Regions from separate parts of the Homo sapiens genome. Here regions 1, 2, 3, 5, 6 and 7 are each linked to region 4. The links are contacts of gene promoters, found by promoter capture Hi-C in blood cells and fetal thymus (Javierre and others, 2016). All regions are on one chromosome and are shown on one strand. Each heading gives the region's core, a stretch centred on a gene start or on the middle of the fragment in contact. The rest is flanking DNA. Distances are from core to core; before and after follow the strand shown. Region 1 overlaps LYST (lysosomal trafficking regulator). Region 2 has its middle 2.6 kb from the start of TARBP1. Region 3 has its middle 24 kb from the start of LINC01354. Region 4 holds the start of TOMM20 (translocase of outer mitochondrial membrane 20). Region 5 overlaps LYST (lysosomal trafficking regulator). Region 6 overlaps LINC01354 (long intergenic non-protein coding RNA 1354). Region 7 overlaps LYST (lysosomal trafficking regulator).

The links. Contacts are between HindIII fragments. The CHiCAGO score rates a contact against its expected background, and 5 or more counts as called.
Region 1: a contact is called between a fragment that was not itself captured here and the fragment with the promoter of TOMM20 in region 4, in 1 of 17 cell types (fetal thymus). The highest score is 5.1, in fetal thymus.
Region 2: a fragment that was not itself captured here is called in contact with the fragment with the promoter of TOMM20 in region 4 in 17 of 17 cell types (erythroblasts, naive CD8 T cells, activated CD4 T cells and 14 more); the score reaches 15.2 in erythroblasts.
Region 3: a contact is called between a fragment that was not itself captured here and the fragment with the promoter of TOMM20 in region 4, in 10 of 17 cell types (neutrophils, erythroblasts, naive CD4 T cells and 7 more). The highest score is 10.4, in neutrophils.
Region 5: a fragment that was not itself captured here is called in contact with the fragment with the promoter of TOMM20 in region 4 in 1 of 17 cell types (monocytes); the score reaches 5.4 in monocytes.
Region 6: a fragment that was not itself captured here is called in contact with the fragment with the promoter of TOMM20 in region 4 in 1 of 17 cell types (total CD8 T cells); the score reaches 5.6 in total CD8 T cells.
Region 7: a contact is called between a fragment that was not itself captured here and the fragment with the promoter of TOMM20 in region 4, in 1 of 17 cell types (monocytes). The highest score is 5.8, in monocytes.

The regions. Positions count from the first base shown.
Region 1 is chr1:235,729,718-235,733,380 of GRCh38, reverse strand. LYST (lysosomal trafficking regulator) reads left to right here. Exons shown (of 53, transcript NM_000081.4): 35 at 2,204-2,349; 36 at 2,438-2,534. Among named protein-coding and RNA genes, the nearest start is that of GNG4, 82 kb to the right of the region's middle. The HindIII fragment of the contact is 7,638 bases long and covers 1-3,663 here.
Region 2 is chr1:234,479,848-234,483,756 of GRCh38, reverse strand. No RefSeq gene overlaps it. Among named protein-coding and RNA genes, the nearest start is that of TARBP1, 2.6 kb to the right of the region's middle. The HindIII fragment of the contact is 2,467 bases long and covers 291-2,757 here.
Region 3 is chr1:234,505,475-234,509,648 of GRCh38, reverse strand. No RefSeq gene overlaps it. Among named protein-coding and RNA genes, the nearest start is that of LINC01354, 24 kb to the left of the region's middle. The HindIII fragment of the contact is 2,446 bases long and covers 1,153-3,598 here.
Region 4 is chr1:235,126,777-235,130,549 of GRCh38, reverse strand. It overlaps TOMM20 (translocase of outer mitochondrial membrane 20), which reads left to right and starts at 1,713. Exons shown (of 5, transcript NM_014765.3): 1 at 1,713-1,955. The coding sequence starts at 1,835. It overlaps SNORA14B (small nucleolar RNA, H/ACA box 14B), which reads left to right and starts at 2,613; the gene lies at 2,613-2,747. LOC105379283 (a long non-coding RNA gene) reads left to right here and starts at 2,349. Exons shown (of 2, transcript XR_949295.4): 1 at 2,349-2,921; 2 at 3,581-3,631. RefSeq lists enhancers at 1,436-1,535, 1,766-1,985. The HindIII fragment of the contact is 4,902 bases long and covers 1-3,647 here.
Region 5 is chr1:235,709,505-235,713,473 of GRCh38, reverse strand. It overlaps LYST (lysosomal trafficking regulator), which reads left to right. Exons shown (of 53, transcript NM_000081.4): 43 at 1,277-1,417. Among named protein-coding and RNA genes, the nearest start is that of GNG4, 62 kb to the right of the region's middle. The HindIII fragment of the contact is 645 bases long and covers 1,580-2,224 here.
Region 6 is chr1:234,528,097-234,531,769 of GRCh38, reverse strand. LINC01354 (long intergenic non-protein coding RNA 1354) reads left to right here. Exons shown (of 3, transcript NR_038426.1): 1 at 1-242; 2 at 589-744; 3 at 1,428-3,673. Among named protein-coding and RNA genes, the nearest start is that of LINC01354, 1.8 kb to the left of the region's middle. The HindIII fragment of the contact is 530 bases long and covers 1,152-1,681 here.
Region 7 is chr1:235,755,078-235,759,224 of GRCh38, reverse strand. LYST (lysosomal trafficking regulator) reads left to right here. Exons shown (of 53, transcript NM_000081.4): 23 at 1-253; 24 at 1,767-1,944; 25 at 3,578-3,747. Among named protein-coding and RNA genes, the nearest start is that of MIR1537, 96 kb to the left of the region's middle. The HindIII fragment of the contact is 1,073 bases long and covers 1,875-2,947 here.

The DNA of each region.
Region 1 (3,663 bases), core at 719-3,218, 600 kb before region 4:
ATCATTTGTGATGTTTTTTTCATCTTAAAGAATAATCATATGAGTTTTTTTTAATTCTTGAGGAAGAAAAGTAATGAGGGGGGCAGTAGCTCATCTAGATAGTAAAATTAGCTTAATTTTAAAATATGGTCTGTAAAAGAATAGAGAAATCACTGAAACAGGATGGTTGAGAAAAATATATTTTTCTAACTAATTTAAAATATGTATTACAAATAACAAAAAGCGGGAAATCAAGGTATTATTCTCTAAATTTAGTTAAGATAACTTATTCATGTGACTTTGGTGTACTAAAATACACTAAACATTAGACACTAAAGTAAATTCCATATGGATAAAAGAATTACTCGAAAAGTTTATAAAGTAGAAGATAATAGGATATTTGTCAACTCTTTGAAGGATAGATGACTTTCTAAGCTCAAATGCAATAGAAGAAACTGCAAATAAATCAATGGATTTTAACCTTAATTTTTTCCAGTGTATTTAACAACCATAACAAGAACAAAAAAGCCTGGAAATATATTTTCAGCAAATAAAGTTATTTTTATTGTTTGAAAAACTTACACAGATTCTAAAGTAAAATATTATGATCCCAGAAGTTTGAATGAGCAAAAGGCATGAACACATTCCTCACATAAGACAAATGAATTACCAAACACACGGGAAAATATTCAATATTGCTAGAGGCTAATTTGGTTTTCTAGAACCTCTAGATACCACATTTTACTTTTTATGTTAACAAAAATTTTGGCTGCTAATATTCACCGCAGGATATTAGCTGTCCTTACTCAGAACTTTGGTGGCATTGTACATTTTGACAATATGTATTAATCATCCTAAAAACATTTTACTTCTAGCTTCAGTTATCCTATTTTAGTGATTCTATCCTAAGGAAAATATTCGAAATATGGAAGGCAGGCCAGGCACAGTGGCTCACACCTGTAGTCTAGTACTTTGGGAGGCTGAGGCGGGAGGATCACTTGAGCCCAGGAGTTCAAGGCTACAGTGAGCTATGAACATGCCACTGCACTCTGGCCTGGGCAACAGAATGAGACCCTGTCAAAAAAGAAAAAGAAAAAGAAAGTAAACATAAAAGTTTTCATCTCTGCATTATTTATGCTAGTGAATGAATTAGAAACAAGTTATAAACCGTAATATGGTTAAATACATTACAATGCATCTACCTCTTTATTGGGCAGCCATTCAAAATGATGAGATAAAGATAATACTGTTTCAGTAAAATAAGGCAAGTTATAGAAAAATGATCATAATGATCATAACTACAAATTAAAAACAGATGCACGTTTTAAAAAAAAAAGACAACAACCGCTACCAGTATTTTGGTATGTTTAGGGTATGAATAAGGGTATTTTTTTCTCTTATTTATTTCTAAAAATGTACTTAATATGTTTTTCCTGTCTTATTTCATCTAAGATAAAATTTATTTTAAAATCTTTTTAAAAATGTGATTCATACCACAGAAAGAAATTGATTTTATTTGTTTCATTAGAGAGTAGGCAAAATGAGGCCAGGTGAGGGCGCTCACGCCTGTAATCCCAACACTTTGGGAGGCCCAGGTGGGTGGATCACTTGAGGCTAGGAGTTTGAGACAAGCCTGGCCGACATGATGAAACCCCATCTCTACTAAAAAAATACAAAAATTAGCCAGGTGTGGTGGGAGCCTGTAATCCCAGCTACTTGGGAGGCTGAGGCAGGAGAATCGCTTGAGCCCGGGAGGCAGAAATTACAGTGAGCCAAGATCACGCCACTGCACTCCAGCCTGGGCGACACAGCCAGACTCTGTCTCAAAAAAAAAAAAAAAAAAAATGCAAAATGGGAAATGTAAAAAATTAATTTGGAAAAAAAATTTACCTAACCATATTAAATCCAGCATGTTGTATTATGTTGCTAAAGTGTTCATAGTAGTCATTACATATCTTTTAAAAAATTTAATAGTTGAAAGAAACTGGAAGCAGAGCTTGCCTTCAGGCGAGGAACTGGGAGACTGGGATTCAGGAGCAAAAAGACACTTAGATTTTATTACTTCTACTTGTATATGCATTCCCTGATCAAATATATAAACATTTGGAGTTTTTAAATTAACAGATCAGTTGTGACTTACTTACTCAATCTCTATAATGATTTTTTTTATAGCTACAAGTCCTGGATGGTCACTTAAAACACCCTTTAATCTTTTTACTTGCAGAGCAGTATGGTATGACCCCATCTACTATCCAACCTCATGGCAGTTGGATCCAACAGAAGGGCCAAATCGAGAGAGGAGACGTTTACAGAGATGTTATTTAACTATTCCAAATAAGTATCTCCTTAGGGATAGACAGAAATCAGAAGGTAATAGTGGCTTCTTGACTCAACATATAAATATAGCAGAGAACTATGGTCATTAGATAAAGATAATATTTACTTTTCTCCTCAACAGATGTTGTCAAACCACCACTCTCTTACCTGTTTGAAGACAAAACTCATTCTTCTTTCTCTTCTACTGTCAAAGACAAAGCTGCAAGTGAATCTATAAGGTAACTTTGAATCAATAGACCTTCACTCTTTCATGAATATACAACAGCTTATTGTAGTGTTTATGTAATATTTATTTTATATAATGCCATCATTTTCAGAAAAATCCTAAACAGGAAAGGCTCAAGGGAGGACAAGGTTATATGGCCAAAATCCAAAAGGAAATGACATTTCTGACAGCAAGAGTTCATGGGATTTCAGTCATCATGTTCTGGCCCTTGTTAGTTTACATATACACACACACACACACACACACACACACACACACACACACACACACATATAAATATGTATATATATACACATATATGGGTACATATATATATACCCATATATATGTATACACACACATATTTTGTAATTGACTGTTTAACATCTCTATCTATTAATATAGATAGAGCTGCTGGTGGTATCATCAAGCAGCAATATAACGTAGTGATTAAAGGTTTAGATTCCAGTTCCTGCTCTTACTAGCTCTTTAATCTTAGGCAAGTTACCTAACCTCTCTGTCTCAGTTACCTCATCTATTAAATGAAGAAATAATAATAGGTATCATAGCGTTGTTGAGTATTAAGTATGTTATTATATATTAACTATTGATAGTATTATCATTGCAGTTATTGTGGTTGTTATTATACCCATTTCATAGATGAAAAACTGAGACACAAAGAAGATAATTGGCTAAGAACACAAAGGAACTTTCTGATTCCAAATCCTCTGTTTTTCCTAGAATACTAGGCTTTTTTAAAAATGTATTTGATAAATTACCTTCATAATAATGTAAATAATACAATAATAGTATATAACAAATAAATAATACAAAATAATAATACAAAAATAAATAGAGCACACACAAAAAATGTATCTGAAGTATCAGAGGCATGAAACAATGTTTGCTTATTTATTAGAAAATATAAAATATTGATATCTCTTTTAAATAACTTAATTTCTATATTCTGTCTACAGGTTATAGGGATTATTAGCCTTTTCTAGGCGTTTCAGTCATTTCTCTTCTAATAGAATGCTAAAAAGGAGCTAATATTTTCATGTGGGTTTCGACAAGATACCTCATGCTATTGGAACTCTATCTAGTCTGCTTTGCAGAAATCTTTTACTAGGTAAAATAAAGCA
Region 2 (3,909 bases), core at 275-2,774, 650 kb after region 4:
ACAGTGGCTCACGCCTGTAATCCCAGCACTTTGGGAGGGCGAGGCAGGTGGATCTCCTGAGGTCAGGAGTTTGAGACCAGCCTGGCAAACCTGGAGAAACTCCGTCTCTACTAAAAATACAAAAATTAGCTGGGCGTGGTGGTGGGTGCCTGTAATCCCAGCTGCACTGGGGGCTGAGGCAGGAGAATCACTTGAACCCTGGAGGCAGAGGTTGCAGTGAGCTGAGATTGCGCCATTGCACTCTAGCCTGGGTGACAGGGCGAGACTCCATCTACAAAAAAAAAAAAGCTTTACTGAAGTGTGCTATGTCTGAGATGAGGTACTGGCATGAGTATAATAGCAGACAAAACCTCATACCCCATGCCTAGCCCTCAAATTGCTTAGAGAGGAGGAGTAGGGGGCAGAGAAATAACCTGCAATTGCAACACAGTGTGACCATTGCTGTGTTGGTGACATGCCAGGATGTTTGGGGAATTTGAAAGAGGGTCACCTAATTTAACTGGGGTGTTAGCAGCAGGAGAAAGGTATTAAGAAATGACTTTCTGGAGAGATAACATTTGAACTTTGTCTTGAAAGAAAAAAAAAGTCAGGTGGAGAAGGGGTAAGTGCTTTCCAAAAGAGAGAAGGGCTTTTTTTGAAAAAACACAAAGAAAAGTGAGAGCACACATGTTTTAGGGACTTCAAAATTAAGGTGTAAATGGGGCTTGTCAGGAGTGTGAAGATGGAGAATTAGGCAGGCATTCCATCTTGAGGCATCTTGGATGATATGCTAAGAAACTCAACCATGATTCTGAGGGCTCTGGGTAGCCAATGATGTAATTTTAGGAAGATCATCCTAGTACCAATACGGAGTATGTATTACACGACCAGGGGCACTAGGAATGGCTTCTTAGAGAGATGCCTTGAAATTTGGGTCTTCATAAAGGAGTAGGAGATGGCTATTCACTCGATAAGCGTTACTTAAATGTGATATAGCTGGGAGTGGGGTAGGTGGTGATTGCTATTATCTTGGCAAGAAATGAGGAGGGTCTAAAACTAAGTAAGGTATTAGTGGGGCACAGAGAGGAGGGATCACCGAGAGATTTAGAAAGTTGCATGGAAACTTTGAGGAGTGATTGCATGTGAGAATCAAGTAGGAAGTGTATTGGTTCCCAGGTTTTTGACTTGGGCAACTTGGGAATGATGGCCATTTCCCTAAACAGGGAATTCCTGGGAAGAAGAACATCGGTGGGGAGTAATGATGCTGGGTGAAGGGATGAAGGGAATGAAGTTAGATTTGTAAAAGTGGAGACTGAGAATGATGTCCTGAATAATATTCAAATGAAGACGTGTGGTAGGCAGTTGGAGAAATAGGTTTCGAGCTATCTCCTAAGGATAAGTCTCAGGAGAGAGACCTAGGCTGGAGATACAGACTTTTTCATCATTAGCATGTAAATGGTAATCAGATCTATAGTGTTAATGAAGTTATTCAGAGAAAATTTACAGAGTGAGGAGAAGAGAGACCTGAAGATAAAACCCTGGAAATATCACTATGGACAGGTCAGGAGGAAAAATAAGATGCTGAAAGAAAGGGAGAAGAAACAGCTGAGGAAGCAGAGAAAAGAAAGAACAGGACAAAGTCATCGATGAAAACCAGAGTGAGATAGTGTTTCAAGAAATAGGAAATACTCCACAGAGTCCATTCAGGTAAGAACGAAAAAGGGCAGCTCTGGCAATTAGGAATCGCTGCCCACATTGGTGAATCAGAAAAGTGGTGTTGCGGGAAATATTCCGGGAGAGAAGACAGTGCAAACATGTTGTGGGTAAGAAGGAGAGTTCCACATGCCTGACCTGGGGCAGAGAAGGGGGAGTCAGGCTGTGAGGCCAGCTGGCTTTTCCCCAATCCCAATAAGCCTTCAATGCTGTGCTCTGCAGTTAGGCTTTACTCTGAAGGCAACAGAGAATAAAACACATAGGCCAACTTGTTTTTTTGTTTTGTTTTGTTTTGTTTTGTTTTTTGGTATAAGTCATTTTTCAAGATTGAGGTAAACTTTCTTTTTTTTTTTTTTGAGACCAAGTCTCACTCTGTCTCCAGGCTGGAGTGCAGTGGTGTGATCTTGGCTCACTGCAACCTCTGCCTCCTGGGTTCAAGCAATTCTCCTGCCTCAGCCTCCCGAGTAGCTGGGATTACAGGCGTGCACCACCATGCCCAGCTAATTTTTTTGTATTTCAGTAGAGATGGGGTTTCACCATGTTGGCCAGGATGGTCTCAATCTCCTGACCTCATGATCCACCGGCCTCGGCCTCCCAAAGTGCTGGGATTACAGGTGTGAGCCACTGCGCCCGGCTGATTGAGGTAAACTTTCTGCAGAGCGAAATGCATAGATCTTAAGGGTTCAGTTCAAGGAGTCTTGACAAATGTGTAACAACACCCTGATCAACATAAAATATTTTCATCACCCCAGAAAGTTCCCTTGTGCCCAATTCTAGTCAAATCTCTACTCCCTATATGCAACTACTGTTCTCATTTCTATCCTTCAGATTACTTTTGTCTCTTCTTGGATTTCATATAAATGAAATCACGAGGATGTAAACGTTGTGACTGGCTTCCTTTGTTTAACATATTGTTTCTGAGACTTATCCATGTAAAGCGGATTAGCAATTCATTGTCTTATTGCTGGGAGCATTATTATATAGATAGATCACAATTTTTTATTCATTCTTCAATTTGATGCACATGTAGGTTGTTACCTAACACCTACTAGGTTGTTATAAGCTTTTGGCTATAACGAATAATGTTGTCAAAAACATTCTTCTGCAAGCTTTTTTTTTTGAAACATGTTTTCATTTATTTTAGGTAATTACCTGGGGGTGAAATCGCTGAATCATAAAGCAGCTATATTATAACTTTACGAGAAACAGTTTCTAAAGTGACTGTACCGTTTTCATGCCCACCAGTAATGTATGAGAATTCCAGTTGCTCCACACCCTTGGTCTTTGCCGTTTAGTGTTTTCGAGCTTTTACATGTTAGCCATTCTCATCAGTATGAAGTGGTACCTCATTGTGGGTTTAATTTGCATTTCTCTGATGACTAATGATGTTGAACACTTTTCCAAGTGCTTATCATTTGTGTATCTTCGTTTGTTAAGTGCTCAAGACATTTACCCATTTATATTTGTTAGATATATGTTGACAGAAACAATAGTTTTCTGCACATTTTATGTTGAAGGTAATTGATATTTACTGACATGTTAAAAGGGCTTAAAATAGAAACATTTATGCATTTTGTCAATGAAAAACGGAATGACTGAAATATGAAAAAAGTCTTGCCTGTGTAATGTCAGATAACCTTAAAGTCAGATAACTTTATATAAAAATAACTGTAAATTTAAATAACTAATTTTTGTCTTATCCATTATGTTATTATATGTCAAGCTCTTTGAAGTTGGGACCCTGTTTTCTCTATTGACTAAGAGGCAGATCTTTGTGTTTAGTAGCGAAGAAAACCCTATGTCACTGATCTAGTTTGTCTCAAATTGAGCCAGGAACCAAATCCACACCATGCATGCCGAGGTGAGGTTTTCTGTTTCTCTATTTAGCAATGGATGCTGTCAGAAATACAGAAAAGACAGACACAGGGACTATTTTTGAGTTTGCACATGGGAGCACATGCATTGTGCAGGAGGCTCTGCATCCTGGAGTCATCTTGGGCACTTGGCTGTGAGGGCTGGCGTGGGCATCTTGGTTTTAGCTGAATCCTAGCACATTGCTATAGGTACCTCTAAGGCAGGAGAATAGGGCCTGGAGGCAGGGAATCCAAAAACTCCCTAGAACCAAATCAGATAGAAACACTTCAGCTATGACAGGAAATATCCTCTTCATTTACATAGGGAGTACACCAAGTAAATAACTTTGTAACTTCATTTTAT
Region 3 (4,174 bases), core at 1,126-3,625, 620 kb after region 4:
TGCAGCCTCAGAGGTATAGCACACGTGGTGGAAGTCCCCGGGGGCAGACCCGGGTTATTCACAAGAATCCAGCTACACAAGAAGGCAGGGAGAACAGGGCAAGGCCAGGCTCTGGGAAATAAGCTGGCCCAAGTAGCTTTTTTTGTTTGTTTGTTTTTGTTTTTTTGAGACAAAGTTTCGCTCTTGTTGCCCAGGCTGGGGTGCAATGGCACAATCTCGGCTCACCGCAACCTCCGCCTCCCGGGTTCAAGCAATTCTCCTGCCTCAGCCTCCCAAGTAGCTGGGATTCCAGGCATGTGCCTCCATGCCCGGCTAATTTTGTATTTTTAGTAGAGACGGGGTTTCATCATGTTGGTCAGGCTGGTCTCGAACTCCCCACCTCAGGTGATCTGCCTGCCTCAGCCTCCCAAAGTGCTGGGATTACAGGCGTGAGCCACCGCGCCCGGCCCCAAGTAGCTTTTCTAAGCAACAATGCCAAATCCTCTGTTCACCCACCCAGTCCCATAAACCTCCCACTCTGCAGCCTGATCTTCTCTCCTCTGCTTTCCCAGCAGCAGATTTTGGGACCTAGTCTTCCATCTCCATTCTAGCTCCATGTGTTATAAGTAGTTTCTCATTTAATCTTCATGTCAACAACTTGGTAGTTGGCACTGGCCAGGCTTTCAGATGAGGAATCTAGGCTCAGAGAGGTTAAGTACTTTGCCCAAAGTCACACGGCTAGTAAATATGAGAACTAGGATTCACTCATTATTAAGACGCTTCATTTCGGCCAGGCGCGGTGGCACATGCCTGTAATCCCAGCACTTTGGGAGGCTGAGACAGGCGGATCACAAGGTCAAGAGATCGAGACCATCCTGGCCAATATGGTGAAACCCCGTGTCTACTAAAAATACAAAAATTGGGTGGGCGTGGTGGCGCATGCCTGTAGTCCCAGTACTCGGGAGGCTGAGGCAGGAGAATTGCTTGAACCCGGGAGGCGGAGGTTGCAGTGAGCCGAGATTACGCCACTGCACTCCAGCCTGGTGACAGAGCAAGACTCCATCTCAAAAACAAACAAACAAAAAGCTTCATCTCAATGACTTCCCAATCCCTCCCAACTCGGAGGTTCTGTGTGTCTATGGAATGCCTTGGTGAAAGGAAAGAACACAAGCTTTGAAGTCAGACATACCTGGTCTGAAATGGGACATACCTGGTCTGACTTCAAAGCCTGTGTTCTTTCTCTTTCACCAGGGCATTCTATAGACCCACAGAACCTCCGAGTTGGGAGGGATTGGGAGGTCATTGAGGTGAATCTTCTAAATAATGAGTGATTCAGTTTTCCAGCACTCTCCATAAGCCGAAAGCTGGAATATGTGGCTGTGTTCTTGCTTAGTCAAGTGGCAAACAAGGGCAGAAAGAAAGAGGAAGAGAGGGAAGGAAGAAGGAAAGGAATGAAGAAGGGTGGGAGGGAGAGAACAAAAGTTCAGCTTCAATGAACGTATCGTATTTTGAATTTTTTTGATGGAACAATCTAGAAAGAGCTATTTTAGTTTCACCATGCCTGAACATCTTGCAATTTATGTTTAGCTTTTTTTTTTTTTCTTTGTCCTGGTCTCTTTACCTTAACTTAGCATGTGCTCTTTTCTTCCCAGGCAAGACTTTGCCTCCTTATGATAAAGGTTCTAATTTGCTTCCTAGTAATAACGCTCCTCCACCACATCTCCCATTGTGGCCCAATGTCAGGATCAGCCCAGGGGAGCACCCACTTGGCCTGCCCAGGCTTCTGAGCAAGACTAAACCAGAAAGCAGGTAGAAAATAGGCTGCGCGCACCTCCCCAGCTGATTTGGGGAAGAGTAGGACCTTTCTGGAATCTGATACCTTAGGGAAACAAATCCAATAGCATGAAGTTGAAATCGGTTGCAATTAGGTGAACTGGTTACATCATGCGCAATGTGAGGGAAACAGCCCTGCAGACCTTGAGTAGCAGTAACACGGTCTAAATCAAGTTTGTTCAACCCGCGGCCCAACACAAATTCAGAAACTTTCTTAAAACACGATGAGATTTTTTTGCAATTTTTTTTTAGCTCATCAGCTGTCGTTAGTGTTAGTGTATTTTATATGTGACCCAAGACAGTTCTTCTTCCAGAGTGGCCCAGAAAAGCCAAAAGATTGGACACCCCTAATCTAAATCTTTTGCAGATTTTGCAGATTTGAGGGCTTTCGTTGTGTTTATCTTGGGGCCTCTCTGGAGTTCCAGGTCAGTGGGGAGGAAGCCTGCAGGCAACAACTTCCAAGGAACCCTTGGGGTGGGGCGGGGGGGGGGTGGGACAGGACCAGCACTGCAGAGGGGCACCTCCTAGTGCCTGGAAATATGTGAAGCAGCACAAGGCTCTAGGAGCACAAGAAGACATGCTTCCTGCCCTCTGGTGACTTAGGATCTAGGCCAAGGACCAATTAGAAGACAATTAAGGACTTAACTGTGAGAGAAATCAACTCTAAGGGTAATAGGAATTTGCAAATAGAGAAGACTTCTATGGCTGTGGATTGGAAAGATTTGAGTAAGGACTTGAAGCCCAGGAAGGATTTGGGTGGAGTGGAAAGAAGGGCAGCAGGGCAGGGCTGAGGGAGTAGAGGAGGCAGAAAGATGGAAAGTCCCCATTATGGAGCGATGAATTAAAATAGAAAATAGCCTGTAATCCCAGCTACTCGGGAGGCCGAGGTGGGAGAATCGCTTGAACCTGGGAGGCAGAGGTTGCAGTGAGCTGAGATGGCACCATTGCACTCCAGCCTGGGCGAAACAGCAAAACTCTATCAAAAAATAATAATAACAAATCAAATAGGAAATAACGACACTACACTTGTCACAGTTCTCCAAAGTAATTTTTATATATTGTCTCCTGTAATTTTCGCAATGCGTTTGGGAATATACAAACCTCTTCTCTGGGCATAGCTGGTTGGGGTGAGGGTGGGACATCTGACTTCAAGTGGACCATTACATCTCTCCCACTCCCATTGGACTTTTGGATTTGCAAGGTGAGGGAGGTTCAAATTATTATTTTAAAAGAATTGTTTTATTTCCATAGGTTTTTGGGGAACAGGCGGTTTTTTGTTGTTGTTGTTGTTGTTTGTTCATTTATTTGTTTTCTGAGACGGAGTCTCACTCTGTTGCCAAGCTGGAGTGCAGTTGCGCGATCTCAGCTCACTGCAACCTCCTCCTCCCAGGTTCAAGCAATTCCCCCGCCTCAGCCTCCTGAGTAGCTGGGACTACAGGTGTGCACCACCACACCCGGCTAGTTTTTTGTATTTTAGTAGAGACGGGGTTTCACCATGTTGGCCAGGATGGTCTTAATCTCCTGACCTCGTGATCCGCCCGCCTCAGCCTACCAGAATGCTGGGATTACAGGCGTGAGCCACTGTGCCCGGCCATGAGTAAGTTCTTTAGTGGTGATTTGTGAGATTTTGGTGCACCCATCACCCAAGCAGTATATATTGAAGAGGGAGGTTCAAATTAGTTTCTTCCAGGCGGCTAAAGCTGTAGGAGGCAAAGTTTGGAAGAATGGAAAAGTAGAGGCACCTGGTTTAATGGAAGGGAGAGAGAGGGGAATGGAAGAAGAAGCTTGTGTTCAGATATTCAGAGGGGGGCAGGAAAGAAAAATGAAGAGCTGCCAATGTTAGAATCTAGGGCCAAGTTGGATTGAGACATCCCACAATTCTTACACCAAAGACCCATTTTTACTGAGTCATGTTGAATTTCTCCTTTCAATAAAAACATTCCTAACTAATATACACACCTTGTCTCATTTCATTTTGCAATAGCCCTTCTAACAAGATTAGTTTCATCATTTCCCTTTTATGGGCCACTTAGGTTTCAAGAAAGAAATGAGACTTAGTGAGAAATGTGCCCAAATCATCATCAACTGGTATGTGATTGAAACTTCATTCAAATCCACATCTGATTTCAAAGCCCAGGGTCTTCAACTCCTCCCCCATAGCACTGTCTTCATTTCCTAGGAGTGCCAGGAACAAAGCACTACAAACTGGGTGGCTTGAAACAACACAAGTTTATTGTCTCACAGTTCTGGAGACTAGAAATCTGAGATCGAGGTGTCAGCAGGACCCACTCCCTCTGAAACCTGCAGGGGAGAGTCCTTTCTTGCCTCTTTTAGCTTCTGGTGATGCTGATAACCCTAGGTG
Region 4 (3,773 bases), core at 464-2,963:
GTGACAGCAAGACTGTCTCAAAAAAAAAAAAAAAAAAAAAAAAAAGTGAAAGGTTACTTTGTAGAATGGTGCATACCCTAAAGCAAGAGAAGGAACATGTCCACCTTAGGTACAAGGCTTGTTTGTATTGAACAGCAAAAAAATGAGGAAGATGAGCTCTACTCCAAGAGCTTGTGACAAAGGATTTTTTGTGTGTTTGTTTTGAGACGAGGTCTTACCCTGTCACCCAGTTTGGACTGCAGTGGTACAATCATAACTCAACTGCAGCCTCAACCTCCTGGGATTAAGGGATACTTCCGCATCATTCCCCATGTAGTTGGGACCACAGGTGTGTGCCACCACGCCTGGCTAAGTTTTTAATTTTTTTGTGGAGACAGGGTCTCACCATGTTGCCCAGGCTGGTGTTGAACTCTTGGGCTCAAGCTATCCGCCCATCTGGGCCTCCCAAAGTGCTGGGATTACAGGTGTGAGACACTGCCTGGTCTTTGTCAAAGGACTGTTAATCCTGTGTAACTACTGTCTTCTGCAAGGATCAATATTATCTTTAAAGGGAAAATTAAACTAAGAATGCTTTTGTTCTTAAGATATCAGGACATCAGGACATTTCCTGGGTCTGTTAGGTAAACATTATTAACTTGTTCCCTTCCCTGTAAATATCCTGTGACCAAGAATGCCAAACTTCCTGGGAATGTGCCCCAATAGGTCTCAGCCTCATTTTACCCAGCCCCTATTCAAGGTAAGGTAGCTCTGGTTCCAATGTCTCTTGACACTGATGCTTGACTTCGATACCCCTCAACTTACAGTGTCTGTTTAATGCCTGCTTTCTGCCCACGATTTTCCTTGTCAATATCTTAAGTTAGATCATATATATATATATTTTGTTTTTTTGAGACGGACTCCTGATCTGTCACTCAGGCTGGAGTGCAGTGGCTCGATCTTGGCTCACTGCAACCTCTGCCTCCTGGTTCAAGCGATTCTCCCGCCTCAGCCTCCAGAGTAGCTGGGATTACAGGCCCCGGCCACCATGGCCAGCTAATTTTTGTATTTTTAGTAGAGACAGGGTTTCACTATGTTGGCCAGGCTGGTCTCAAACTCCTGGCCTTAAGTGATCCGCCTGCCTCGGCCTCCCAAAGTGTTGAGATTACAGGCGTGAGCCACCGCGCCTGGCCTGATCATGTGTATGTTTTCGTGTGGCTATAAAACAATTCACGTTTTCTATTTTTTCTTCAATTGTGTATATTTTTCAAGAAATTACTCCATTTAATTTTATTCCAGTTATCATAAAATGAGGCTATCCTGTAACATTCTTTTGAAATGGAACCACTACGCACAATGGATTGTGGCAACCTGAAAAGAAAGTACAGTTTAATTCAAACAAGTCACAGGCTGCCTGTGTTAGACAAGATGAAGCATTCGCAGTCTGGGACCCTGCATCTCTGTCTGCCACAAACAAGGCTGTCAGCTAGTCTTCTGAGTACGTGCACGCCAGTAACGCGTACGCCTCGTTACAGCATGGTCGGCGGATATGAAAAAAAGTCCGTGGTCACGTGCAAATTCCCGACTCCAGTGCGTACACCCAGCGGCGCAGGGGAAACGCCGGCTTCGCCCACTGCGCAGGCGCAGGAGCCGCGCTCTGGGCCTCTGCTCAGGCTCTGCCGCGGACGACCTCGAGGCCCTTAGTTGACTGGGACCGGAAGTGGCGTGTGCTCGGCCTTTCTGTGTTCCTGGCCCGCGGCCGTCGGGTGTGAGCTGCGCCGACCGCTCTGAGGGTTCGTGGCCCACCGCTCCTTCGCGGTCCCTGCCGCCACCGTCCACGCTCAGCGTTGTAGAGAAGATGGTGGGTCGGAACAGCGCCATCGCCGCCGGTGTATGCGGGGCCCTTTTCATTGGGTACTGCATCTACTTCGACCGCAAAAGACGAAGTGACCCCAACTTCAAGAACAGGCTTCGAGAACGTGAGTGGGTCCTCTCTCCCCTGGCCAGGCTTGCTGCCTTCGGCCGCCGCCCTTCACAGGAGGGGTCATTGCCTCCCACCAGCCTGTGGGCCGCGCAGGGCGACCGCGTGGTGCGGCCCTCAATAGGCGATGGCGCTGGCTGCGCCGCTCCGGGGGCTCTAGTGCCCCGTAGGAATTCCATTTTGGAGGAAGGATTTTTCCCGTTTTGTTTTCCCCAGACACTTTAGCCGTGCAAATGCACTCTTGATTTCTGTTGCAATCTCGGGTGTGTGTGGCCTGGGGAGGAGGTTGTCTCTTTTTTTGTCGTTCATCTTTTTAAACCTCTACTCTTAACTAAAAAGTCGTGCATTTTTGTCGCAAATTTTAGTCTGAGGCTAAATCCGCATGCTCAGTGCAGTATCATTGTTGCATTCTTTTTTTTGAGACGGAATCTCGCTCTGTCGCCCAGGCTGTAGTGCAGTGGCGCGATCTCGGCTCACTGCAACCTCCGCCTCCCGAGTTCAAGCGCTTCTCCTGCCTCAGTCTCCCCAGTAGCTGGGATTACAGTCGGGCGTCACCACGCCCGGTGATTTTTTGTGTTTAGTAGAGACGGGGTTTCACCGTGTTGGTCAGGCTAGTCTCGAACTCCTGACCTCAGATGATCCGCCTGGCTCATTGCTGCATTCTTAAACCCTCTTGGTAGCTTCGTTCTAAGTGCTTCCAAGATATGAGTGAATGCTATAGAAATTGCAGGGGAGTCCAAAGGGCTGCGCTTCTCCCGTGGCTCAGTCTTATTTCATACCTGCGACATCTTTTAAGAGAGGTCTACCAGAGGGGAATCGTGTCATGAAAACCGTTGTGATCCACCTTGAATTTTCGGAGAATCTTCATTCGCATCATTGAAGAGCAAATTTGTTGCAATAAGAAATATTTTTTGGCTTATCTTGGTTGTTCAGCCAAATTAGTTTTTGGAATTAAAATTGATACGTAAGTTACTAAAGCCCAAGGGGTACAAAGAAGGGATTATTGTTTACTTAAGTAACAGTGGTTACGGTTTAATTCAGCTATACTAAGTCATTTCAAGTGTTCAGTAGCCCTGTGTGAGCAGTGACTGCAGCGCTGATCTTACTAGCACTAAGAATCAGACATCTAGTTCCAGCTTTCTTATGTTTTAGGAGGGAAGGGATATAGACATAATTTGATTTATGACTAGGCAGACTAATAGAATACTGTTTTACATTCAGACCTTGAATTTCTAGGGCCAGGTTAGCGGCATAATTTGGGGTTTCTGAATCCTAATTTCTGTAGTTGTAAAATCAGGTAATGCCACCTACCTCTTGTTGATCTTGTGAAGGTTGAGATGTTTGAATTGCCTTCCACGTTTTCTGACATAGGAAATGCTCCTCCATAAATGCTGGTGGTCATTCTGCCTTCGGGTTATTGTCCTGTAGTTGCCAAAATGGGTGACAGCTGGGGGCTTTGGTACAAATGCAGAGTTATAAAGAATGGATTAACCCTATCTTCCGTTGGAAACCCTGAAGTCCTGTTGCAGAAACAAGAGCTATCATTTTAGACAAATGGAGGAATGTTATTTCAAAATAACTTCTCCATCATTTTCAATCTAAAATTGTTTTTTCTGGATTTAGCGGCAACCTAATGATTACAGTGAATTACTTAGCTGCAGCAGTAACTTTAGGCAAGTAACTTCAAGCTTTAGTTTTCCCTTTTTGTAAAATGGTATAGTGTAGAGTTTTAGTCCTGTTCCTCACACATGGTAATTGATGAATGCTAGAGATTTTTTGTTGTTGTTGTTTGTTTGTTTGAGTCTCGCTCTGTCGC
Region 5 (3,969 bases), core at 653-3,152, 580 kb before region 4:
TAATAAAATGTAGGAAAATACAGAGAATCTTAAAATCTGAACAGAACCTACCCAATGTGCTACTCTTGTTCCGTATTTCCTTAGTCTTAGCTCCAGATACTTTGACCTCACCATAGCCTTACAAAATTACCTTAATTTTTCTTTTAGTTTTTTTGTTTGTTTTTGAGAATTACCTTAATTTTTCTGAATTCCATTTTGATTGATAACTTTTTCTACTAAGTTAGTAGGTATTTCTTTAAGTGGCCCTCCTTACTTTCTGAGAAAAAGTAAATGTTTCTAAACCTTATTTCTTCCCAGATTTTTTTTAGTGGCCAGCCAATGCCAATTGACTCAACAGAATAGATGAGAAAGTAATACAAGTGACAGAAGATGTTGCTCAGCAGAGCAACTAAGGCTGGGAGAAGAAACCTGATGCTGCGATGTGTTTGTGGCAGTCTCCAAATGAAAAGATGTGTTCAAATTTCAACAAGTTCAGAGGAGTTTTAGATGATGCAATATGGTTCCTAAGAAACATGTAAACTGCTACTGTTTTCAGAGGCTAGCTTTTGGATATCATTTAATATTCTAGGCCTTTCCCTATGGCTAGAAAGTCTGATCATTGTTGGCAGAAAAGAGAGTCCAAACTTAATTCTTTATTATTAATAGTCTACCCTGGAAAAAAAATGAACGAAAGAGTGACTATGCTTATTTTTATTTTCATTCACAGGAAATTTTACTCAATTCTTTAGCTCAGAGTTAGAACACCAAAAAACAATGCACCGTAACCTACGCACCCCCCCGAAAAAAAAGAAAGAAAGAAAAGAAAGGAGAAAAAGTAGTCTTAACAATTCAAAGTGAAGGAATCATGCTTCCTGATGGGGAAAAAACTGTTTGCCTACTTGAACTTAAATCTTCCTTCTTCATTATTCATTCATTCAATAAATAAACCATGATTGAATACCCATTATGTGCAAGGTGTGGGTGATATCCCAGGGCCCTGTTTTTGTGGAACTTTCATTCTACTTTGATAGATAGACGAAAATTAAACAAATAGATGATATAAACTAATCTAATAATATATATTACAAAAGCATAATACAGATGAAAAATGTAATATGATCTCAAGTTTATAGAAATATTTATTTTCAAGAACATGAATAACTTCTTTTAAACTATGGGCAAACAAAATTAGCATTATTTTAATCTTTTTGAAGTGGCAAAAGTAAATTAATTATGATAGGCCTCAAATAGAATTAGGTCTTTGTGTCTTAATCGTATTATTTGTATTTTTTTATAGATCAAAGTTTTGACATTCCAGACAGAACTTTTCATTCTACAAATACAACTTGGCGACTCTCATCTTTTGAATCTATGACTGATGTGAAAGAACTTATCCCAGAGTTTTTCTATCTTCCAGAGTTCCTAGTTAACCGTGAAGGTATAGCAATAAATTATTTTTAATTTATATTTCTGAGGGCTTGTGGTTATTTTGTAATTTTCCAAAAATGAAAATAGCTTTTTTAAGTCCTAAAAATTTTTGAGTCCCCAAATAAGAGAAAATGTTTTTTATTAAGTATATAATTCTATTTTCAAATAAGCTTGAGGATTTTAAGTATTTTATAGGACTAAATATGTTTGGAAAACTGTAACTTTTAACTATTAAAGTTATTTGTAAATATGTATTTTAATTTTATTATAGAAATTGCTTTATTCTTTTTTCTGAATACAAAAGTTATAATGTGCTAATTACTTTAAAAATAAGAGGTATGACTTTATTGAAAGCAAAATGTAAATTAACTGAAATCTCAATTATTTTATGAGGAATGACCAAAATAAAAATAAAATACTCTGCCCAGAATTATCTAATAACCAAAAGGAATACTGGAGTATAAAATCAAATTTTCTGTGATGCCAACTAACAGTCTTGGCTGCCAACCTTAGCTATTCTTAAATAGAAGAGCAGCTAACCCTTTAAGGGGTATCTTTGGGTCATTTTCTTATATTACTTAATTCTATAATTTTATGTGATCCTTAAGAGCATATGAAACAGCTTTAAGAAGTTGGTGTTGGGCAAATTACATTGGAATTTTGTTGTATAGTATCTGTGTCTCTGAGGTTGTTTGATTGATTATTGAATCATCAGTAGATTCATGCCACCCTGGAGCTTATTTCATAGTGTTGCTCAAGTGAGAAATGCCTCAGTCAAACATCAGCACCTGCAATTTGGGGCACCTGCCTTGAAGCTTTTCATTTAGGACTCCTGTTTAAATCTACTCCTTGTTTTCTCTGTCCATGGTCTCTTATATGTATGTTCTAGCTATCTGTGGCTGTATAACAAATAATCTCAACACTTAATGGCTTGAAACAATAATAAATTTATTATCAATCACAGATAATAAAATTATTTTTTATTGGTCAGAAATAAGAAATTGGTCAGAAGTTCAGAAACAGCTCAGCTAGATGGTTTTAGCTCAGGGTGTCTCATGCTGTTGCCTTCAGGTTTTCTGGAGCTGGAACAGGCAGGAGATGAAGCCTTAGGCAGCTGGAGCACATCACCCTCTCTTCATGCAATGTCAGTGTTTTTTCATGTGGTCTCTCTGTGTGGGCTAGTTTTGGGCTTCCCCACAGCACGGCAGCCCTGGATGTCCTACTTGGCAACTCAGGGTTCCAAAGACAAGTGTTCCAAGAGGGAGACGAACAGAGGCTGCATGGCCTTTTCCAGCCTGTTCTTAGCAGCCACGCAGCATCACTTCCACTGTATTCTTCCTATTCATTGAGGCAGTCACAAGTGTCTTCCCAGATTCAAAAGAAAGGAAGATAGACTTTGCCTTGTGATGGAGAGTAGCAAGATTCTGGAAGGGCATGCAAGACAGGAAATGCTGTTATAGCCATTTTTGGAAAACACAGTTTTTTACAGCGTATATCATATCATTTCCTATCAGTGTTCCCCTGGGACTCTCGTATGTCAGTTGTCTGCTTTGGGTCAGGAGTCAGATGTTCCCTCAGAACACCTGAAAGTTGGGAAAGATTGAGTTTGTACAAATGCCCTTATGCACCCCATCCCCAGCCCATTCCCAGATGCCTCATTCACTGTTAAATAAATAAGTTCCTGCTGCTGCCGCTCCTGAAGCCACACACATGGAGTTCTGCAGGTGCTCAGCCAGTCCATCCTAAATCAACCATGCAGCTGCTCTGTACGATGACTGCTGAGCTTTCTGAGATGCTCACATCCCCATCCCATGTGAATTTATATAAACCCTTGATTTATATTCCATATCATATCATTTCAAAATACTTCCCAAGTATTTTGGTGAAGATCCTTCTAACTGTTTTTACAAGATCAAAAAGTAGACAGACAGCAACTTAATTTTACATGGAACTTAATCAGCTTTTAAAAGGTCATTTTTAATTTTTGTTATGGTGTTCAGCAAACTAGAAAATGTAGCACAAAAAGCCATTTCTGTTTAAAGGTAACATTTCCTTTAGGATAATTTTTTTAAATAAACACTTCTGAGATTTTTGTTTATACTGATGAGACAATTAGATATTAGCTCATTTACATCACAGAAGAACCCTCTTATTTCCTGTGTTGGGATAATTTTGCTATCTACAGGAATGCTTAGTAGAAAGGAAGTCAGAACAGACCCATAGACTTATAAAATTAATAGACTATGGCAATTCATTCTAACAATGTGTATACTTTATATTAGTTGAGTTTTTAAACTATAGAATACTAATATTTACTAAATATAATCTTAAATTTATTAAAATGTTAATACCAATAGTTTAGAAATGCTTCTACAAAGCCTTAGTTTGATTCTAATCAGGTTTACAATTGAATAGATATTTAAGTACTTAATGCCCTTGAAGATGTGAATAGTCAGAATATTGGAATTAGTAGGCAATGGTTTTCTCCTTTTCTTCAATATGTTGTAAAGTGGTAGAAGGATAAAGTTGAAAGATCTCAAATTTAATTATGATAGCATTAGC
Region 6 (3,673 bases), core at 167-2,666, 600 kb after region 4:
CTGCATTCCCACGGCGACGGCCTCCTGGCCCGCATCATGACTGTTGTTTTCCTCGCGGTGGCCATAGCTTTTGGATTTTACATTCAGATTGGTTCAAGGGGCTTTTTCCTTTCTCTGTTTGAAGGAAGCCACCCTCTCGATCCCCAGTCAGCGTGGCGTCCTCTCAGCAACCCGCTCCTGGTCTTGCTTTGACTCCTGTGCTCCCGGGCTGCCGAGAACACGTCTGGAGCTTTTAAATCAGGGTGAGTCCCAGCCGCCGAGGAAGCACTGAACAAAAAGGCCACCGCTGGGGAGCTGCAGGGGCACAGACGGAGCCTGGGAGCGGGGCTGACCATGGGGAAGAAGGGGAGGTGGGAAAGAAGGCCCGGCCACCTCCACTGCTACAGCCACAGCGACAACAGTAGACAGTGACAGGCCCTGCCTGCCACGCACTGCAGAGTCTGTGGCTCTCCCCTGTTAAGTAAGAGCAGTCGGCGCTGACGTTCAGTGAGGTCATGAGGATACTCACAGAACTTTCTGGAATAAGGGTCAGGCTGCGAAGCATTCCCCAGACATTGTAACATCCAGCCAGTCACTCGTGGCATTTAGCTTTTAGGTTCATCTCTGTGAATAATCATCACAAATATTTACTGAGCATCCTTCATCTCCTGGAAGCCTCGTGGATTATCTTGCTGAATCCTCACCACAGCAGCCCGCTGAGGGAGGTGCTATCATCGTCCCTGTTTTTCAAGGGAGAGAATCAAGGTTTGGGCAGGTGCAGTGACCTGGGGCGGTGCGGGGGGTGGGGGCGGGGTCTATTTCTGGCAGTCCTTCTTACGCTCATCCTGACTTAATAATACTGTTTCTGCATTTACTGCAAAATGGGCTCCCCCAGGGGTTACCCACAGAGACACATTTTCTCTTTTCTCTCCTCCACTCATGAGCTCAGTTGCGTGCTACGTTATCTGCCTTGTCTTCCCAGGCGTACTTTAACTTCTGCAGAGCAGACTGAAACTATGTCCGCCAGGCCAGGGCTTTCATTGCCCCCACCCAACTCTCTCCTGTCCCTGCCCCTACCTCATCCTATCAGCTAGCCGTCAAAAGAGCAACCGGAAAATCCCACACTTTGGTTAATAAAGCTAATATTAGAAAGAATCACTAAAAGTTAAGCTTTAGGGTCGAATCCATTGATAAGTGTTTAATACACTGACCATTTCATCTGATATTTTATTTTTTTAATTTTAAAATTAATTAATTGTTTATTGTTTATTTTTTAGAGACAGGGTGTCACTCCAGAGTGGAGTGTGGTGGTGCAAACATAGCTCACTGCAGCCTCCAACTCCTGGGCTCAAACAATCTTCTTGCTTCAGCCTCCCAAGTAGCTGGGACTACAGGTACATGCCACCACACCTGACTAATTTTTTTTGTTGTTTTTTTGGTTTTTTTAGGGACAAGGTCTTGCTATGTTGCCCAAGCTGATCTTGAACTCCTGGCCTCAAGCAATCCCAATAGTTCGGTCTCCCAAATTGCTGAGATTGTGGGTACAAGCCACTGCACCTGGACTTCTTCTGACATTATAAAGCAAAGAGCATTTTCAAAAGCTGATGCTACTTGTGCATATTCCATATTTGCTGAGCGCTTACTGTGTCCCCATTAAGTGCCAGGCACAGTTTTCAGCACTGCTTTAAAGTGTCTACAAGCTTAGAAAGGGCATAGGCATCTCTTGAAATCCAGTGTTCTAGGGAAAGTTTTTCCTGTGGTTTTGCACAGAACCCACCGCTTCCTGTCCAAGGTGACAGCTTTAGCTGGGAGAGAAATTAAAAATGCCTCCTTGGAATAGCTATCTGATGTGTCTAAATATGATTGCTGATGTTAGCAATAGGACCTGCCTATTAGCAATGGTTTGGGCAACTGTATGTGTGAGGCAGGGAGAGAAAGAGGAAGAAAATACAGCTCTCACTATTGTTTCCAAATGGCAAGACTGGTTTTCCTGCTACCTACTAACCAGTGTAGTTATTAGTGTTACATATCACCTCTGCATCTTATTTATGTAATATTCCAAGAAGCTAAAAAAAAAAACCTCTTTTTTTTTTTTTTTTTACAAATCTTAGATTTTATGAACACTTGCTAATAGCCCCCCCCTCCTAGATCGTCATTGCTGTGTAACAAATTGTCATACATTTAGCAGTTTAAAATACCACACATTTACTCACAGCTTCCATGGGCCACGAGTGTGGGGACGAGTGACTGGGTCGTCTGCTCAGGGTCTCTTACAAGACTCCATCAGCGTTTCAGCTGGGGCTGGGGTCTCATCTGAGGCTCAGGGTCCTCACTCCAGGTCACAGGGCAGAATTCATTTCTTTCAAGCTACGGATCTCATGGCAGCTTGCTTTTTCAAGGCCAGCAAGGGAGAGAGTGAATCTGCTGCTTTTAGTGTCTGACCTCTCGATCTTCTTTTAAATGGCTCATCTGATTAGGGCAGACCCACCCAGGATAATCTCTCTTTTGACTAACTTACAGTCAACTCATTAGAGATCCTAATTACATCTGCAAAAATCCCCTCACCTTTGCCTGATAATGTGACATCATCACGGGGGCAATATCCCATCACTTTTGCCATATACTATTGGCTAGAAGCAAATTAAGGTCCTGCTACCACTCAAGGGGAGGGGATTACACAAGGGCATGGGACATCAGGGGTCATCTTAGAATTCTGGCAACCAGAATAAGCTACTTGTGGATAGACATGTTGTCATACATATTTTTTGTTCAGTCATTATGCTTAGCAGAGAAATAGGCACACAGCAGAAAAATAACTGATTGGTACGGAGAATTTAGTGATTGGAAACGAATTAATATTGTTAAGACACAAAGTTTCTTGCAGAGCACACTCTGAAAAAGGTCACTTTTTACCCCTCAATATGTCTTAATGGGTTGAGGTAGAGAGAAGCGTGGGTAGGTATCAATCACGAGAGCACACAGGCTAAAAGAAAGAAAAAATGAGCTGGGACATCTAAGTTCAACTTCCACTTCCTCCTATACAAGCTGGGTGACCTTTTCCTATCTAGAAAGTGGGAGAAGTAGTTCCTGTCCTCCCTTACAGGGCTGCTGAGCAGGCAGAATGAGATGATGGGCTGAGAGGGCTTGGAGAGGACAAACTGTGGGTACAAAAGTCTTATTGTCCTGGCCCGGATTGCTAAGGAGATGGTGGTTAATAATATGCTGCTATCTCATGAGGTAAATGCGTGATCACATAGCCAAGAGATGCCTTTTTGTTCTAATGATCACTGTAAGACCTTCTTGAGAGACAGTCCAAGTCTCTCCAGCACAATGGAAAATTGCATTTTCTATGCACACATTCGAGGGGAAAGAGACCCCTCCAACGTTCTTCTCAGTTTTACCCCAAAGTTGAGTTCTGGGTCAAAAATCTCTCAAGCGTCCTCCACAGCTGACTTCCACAGTCCCCTGTGTGTCTCTGCAAGGAACACAAAGGAAGTGAGATAGTGGGAAGTCTGGGGCCATCTTCGGTCACGTGAGAATTCCCTCTCAGTTAGCCGGGGCGTGCAGCCGCACAGAAGGAAGGCAGCCACGCAGCTCCAGTCCAGGCTGGGAGAGAGCTTTGTAGATCCATCTCCCACTGAGCAGGCTTCCCTCCTGCAAGGAGAGACTCTACCGATAATGTGTTAAGATCAGA
Region 7 (4,147 bases), core at 1,162-3,661, 630 kb before region 4:
AACCCAGGTCAGAAGATGACAGTCCTGGGGATGAGTCCTGCCCACGCCGACCTGATTACCTAAAGGGATTGGCCTCCTTCCAGCGAAGCCACAGCACTATTGCAAGCCTTGGGCTAGCTTTTCCTTCACAGAACGGATCTGCAGCTGTTGGCCGTTGGCCAAGTCTTGTTGATAGAAACACTGATGATTGGGAAAACTTTGCCTATTCTCTTGGTTATGAGCCAAATTACAACCGAACTGCAAGTGCTCACAGGTACTTATGTGTTTTTGTACACTCCTCCCACCTTTATTTTACTATTCTTTAAAGACTCTCTACCCCTCTGGAAACGTCTTCATTATGCCACTTATAATACAACAAACAGAAAAGTTTATTTCTTTATATACATAATAATAACAAACAGAAAGATATATTTTTCCTTATTTTAAGACTAGATAATATTGAATTCCATATTTAACCAAAATCTAAACCATAAGTAGCACTTAAAAAATATATATTGTGGTTTAATTCCTTATAGTTATTAAGGAAAATTCTTCAGGACAGAGAAACGATAGGATTTATCTAGAGCTTTGACTCATGAGAATGATTCTGTCCACTTGGTGCTCATGTGAAGGTGGGAGTGATTTCTAGACTGGGCCTGTCCTGAGTAACATCTTACTTGATCAGAGACAAGTGACGGCTCCAGAAGGGAAGAGGAACAGGTGTCATAGGGTGGCTGCTCCATTCCACTCAGGTAATTATAATGCAGGTCTTAGTGCTGAACATTGGCAGTTCTTCTCTGGATGAAGTCAGAAGAAAGCTAAAATGGCCTCAGAAAGCAATACCAGTGTTTCCCAGGACAGGCTGTCACCAGACTGCACAGAGTCCTCCATGTTATGACAGACATTGCCTAGGCGTTGTATTTCTTCAGCCATTTTCCTTCTGCTACCCCAGTTTGTTCTCTCTCCAGAAACTTAAGGTTCCTCTGTCACCTGGACACAGATGACCTTGCTTTGGTGATGAGATATCCCCCTTATATTTTCCTCTACTTCTGCTATCGCAGACCCATAACTTTATATGGAGCTGAAATGCAGCAGTGCTAGAGAGCATTCCTTTTATGAAAAAAATCTCCTTTCACCAGGAGCTTCCAGAAGTTTCACCTGGGCTAAACCCAGCAGCATTTGTTAGGATATTTAGATGGAGGTTTTATTTTCACACTTGGTTCTTGAGAGGATATTCTGTAATGCTAGATTCTTCCCCTGTACCAATATTTGCCTCTCTTCTCTGTGAGTGAACTGGGTTTTTCTGACATGCCTAGACTCCTAATAAAGCTGTTTCTTCCTTGGTGAAAAAAAAAAAAAAAACATTTCCAATAGCATCTCAAGTAGCAATGTCCAGTGAAACTTTCTGCAATGATGGACATGTTTTATTCATGCTGTCTAATACAGTCAGCACTAGCCACATATGCCTACTGAGCACTTGAAATGTGGCTGATGCAACTGAGGAACTGAATTTTTAGTTTAAATAAATAGCATAAGTGACAGTGACTACTGTATTAGACATCAGAGATGTACAATTGAATAGTGTTAGTAGACTATATGCCCAAAAAAATCAATGATAAAAAGTGATGGTAAATTTGTTAATCACAGTTAAATTAGGAAACATTTCTTAAGCATTATGAACATTTGTTTCACCTGTTAAAAAATGCTACTACTTGTCACAGTTCCTAAGGTAATCATCAAGTACTTTTCTTGTCATGTTAGTAAGACTTTTTTGGTCTCTGTTTTAGTGTAACTGAAGACTGTTTGGTACCTATATGCTGTGGATTATATGAACTCCTAAGTGGGGTTCTTCTTATCCTGCCTGATGTTTTGCTTGAAGATGTGATGGACAAGCTTATTCAAGCAGATACACTTTTGGTCCTCGTTAACCACCCATCACCAGCTATACAACAAGGTGTTATTAAAGTAAGGGCAAATACTAGATATGTTATTTTAATTCAGAAAAATAAATATATATGTAATTTAAAATTTTGAGTATATACATTAAAGTAGACCTAAATCTCTCTTTTATATTTTAGAATAATGAACTAATATAGTTTGTTACTTAATACTCATATATTTTTAAACTTTTTTTATTTTGATAGCTTTAGGGATACAGGGGTTTTTGGTTACATGGTCATATTTTTGCATCATCCAGCTTTAAGTCCCCCTCCATATGTTGGTTCATATCAATATGTCTTTTAAATCTACCAATAAATCCCCATATCTGAACACTTAGTAAATCTCTTTTGTAAAAATTACAAGGAATACGTGGTTCATTGGAAATCTCTTCTTCAGTGTACTATCAAATTTTAGACATTTACTTCAGCTCTCAGCTTAGATGACACCTTTTCAAAAAGACCTTCCCTGATGATCTTATCAAAATAACTTCCCTCTAATCTTACTTATTATTTATTCTATCATAGCATCCTATTTATGTCTTGTAATTATCTTATTAATCTGTGTACTTGTTTTTTAAATTTCTCACAAATATAAGCTCCATGAGGGTGGGCATCTTGTGTAATAGGTACTAAGTATATTATTGAATGAGTAAATGCTTGATATGAATAGTTTCCATTAGAAAACAACCCAATATTAAAATAATCTTGTAAAGATTCTCATTTTTCTTTAGTTTGCTTGGATGTAGGTATTGTTTAATCACTTGCAATACAACCTAGTATTGAGCTCGCATTTCATGTGTAAGTCCCTGAGCTAGTTGCAATATAGTATATAAAGGGAAATAATATAAGCCCCTACATTCAAGAATTTCACAGTCTAGAAGGGAGAGTCTCATACTTAACTAAGTAAAACGTAAGAAATTCTGTGATGAGTACTGCAGTGGCAGTATTAATAGAGAATTGAGCATAGGGGAAACGGAAGGATTCATGGAAAAAGTATATTTTGTGTTATGCTGTAAACTTAGAAAGCTTTTTTAGTAGGGGAATAAATAGATGTGTGTCTGGGGGAAAGGAGTCTATCACTACTGTGAGAGTCATTGAAGGGGAGAAAGAGGTGGAAGGATTAATTTGGTATTACACGTGTTGCATTTAAGATGCTAGAGAAGGGTGGAAATTCAGGCCTGTGCTCAGGATAAATAATCTGTCAAGAAGCCTAGAAGTAGAGGTCTAGGATAGATATAGATACAGATATAGATATAGATATAGATATAGATATAGATATAGATATAGATATAGATATAGATATAGATTTGCAGAGAGAGCATAGTTTACGGATTTTTTCCCTCTCAGCATTAGGTACAAATATTCTATTTATACTCAACTAAGGCTGCCAGTCTACCAGGTGTCCATGCTCAGCTAAAAATGCCAGTTTCCCCATGAGAGAAACATTAAGATCTCCAAGATGGAGTCATCATTAGCATTCCACAGTAGCCAAAGACAAATTCATTTCTGCTTTGCTGTGGTGGTGGCATTTTTTTAAGCTTTCTGTGTTCTTCTGTACATATGAACTTAATTTACAAATACAGTTGTGTTACACTGATTTGTATATATTATATTTAATTTTAATGCATTATCTAAATTGACTTAAATTTTTTGTTTAGCTATTAGATGCATATTTTGCTAGAGCATCTAAGGAACAAAAAGATAAATTTCTGAAGAATCGTGGATTTTCCTTGCTAGCCAACCAGTTGTATCTTCATCGAGGAACTCAAGAATTGTTAGAATGCTTCATCGAAATGTTCTTTGGTCGACATATTGGCCTTGATGAAGAGTAAGTGTGTTCTTCCCTCCACTATAATTGGGAATCTTTTGTCTTTTTTCTTTTCTTTTCTTTTCTTTTCTTTTCTTTTCTTTTCTTTTGAGACGGAGTCTCGCCCTGTTGCCCAGGCTGGAGTGCAATGGTGCAATCTCGGCTCACTGCAACTTCCGCCTCCCAGGTTCAAGCGATTCTCCTGCCTCAACCTCCTGAGTAGCTGGGATTACAGGCACGTACCACCATGCCCGGCTAGTTTTTTGTATCTTTAGTAGAGATGGGGTTTCACCATGTTGGCCAGGCTGGTCTCAAACTCCTGACCTCGTGATCTGCCTGCCTTGGCCTCCCAAAGTGCAGGGATTACAGGTGTGAGCCACTATGCCTGGCTTTTTTTTTTTTTTTTTTTTTTTTTTTTGAG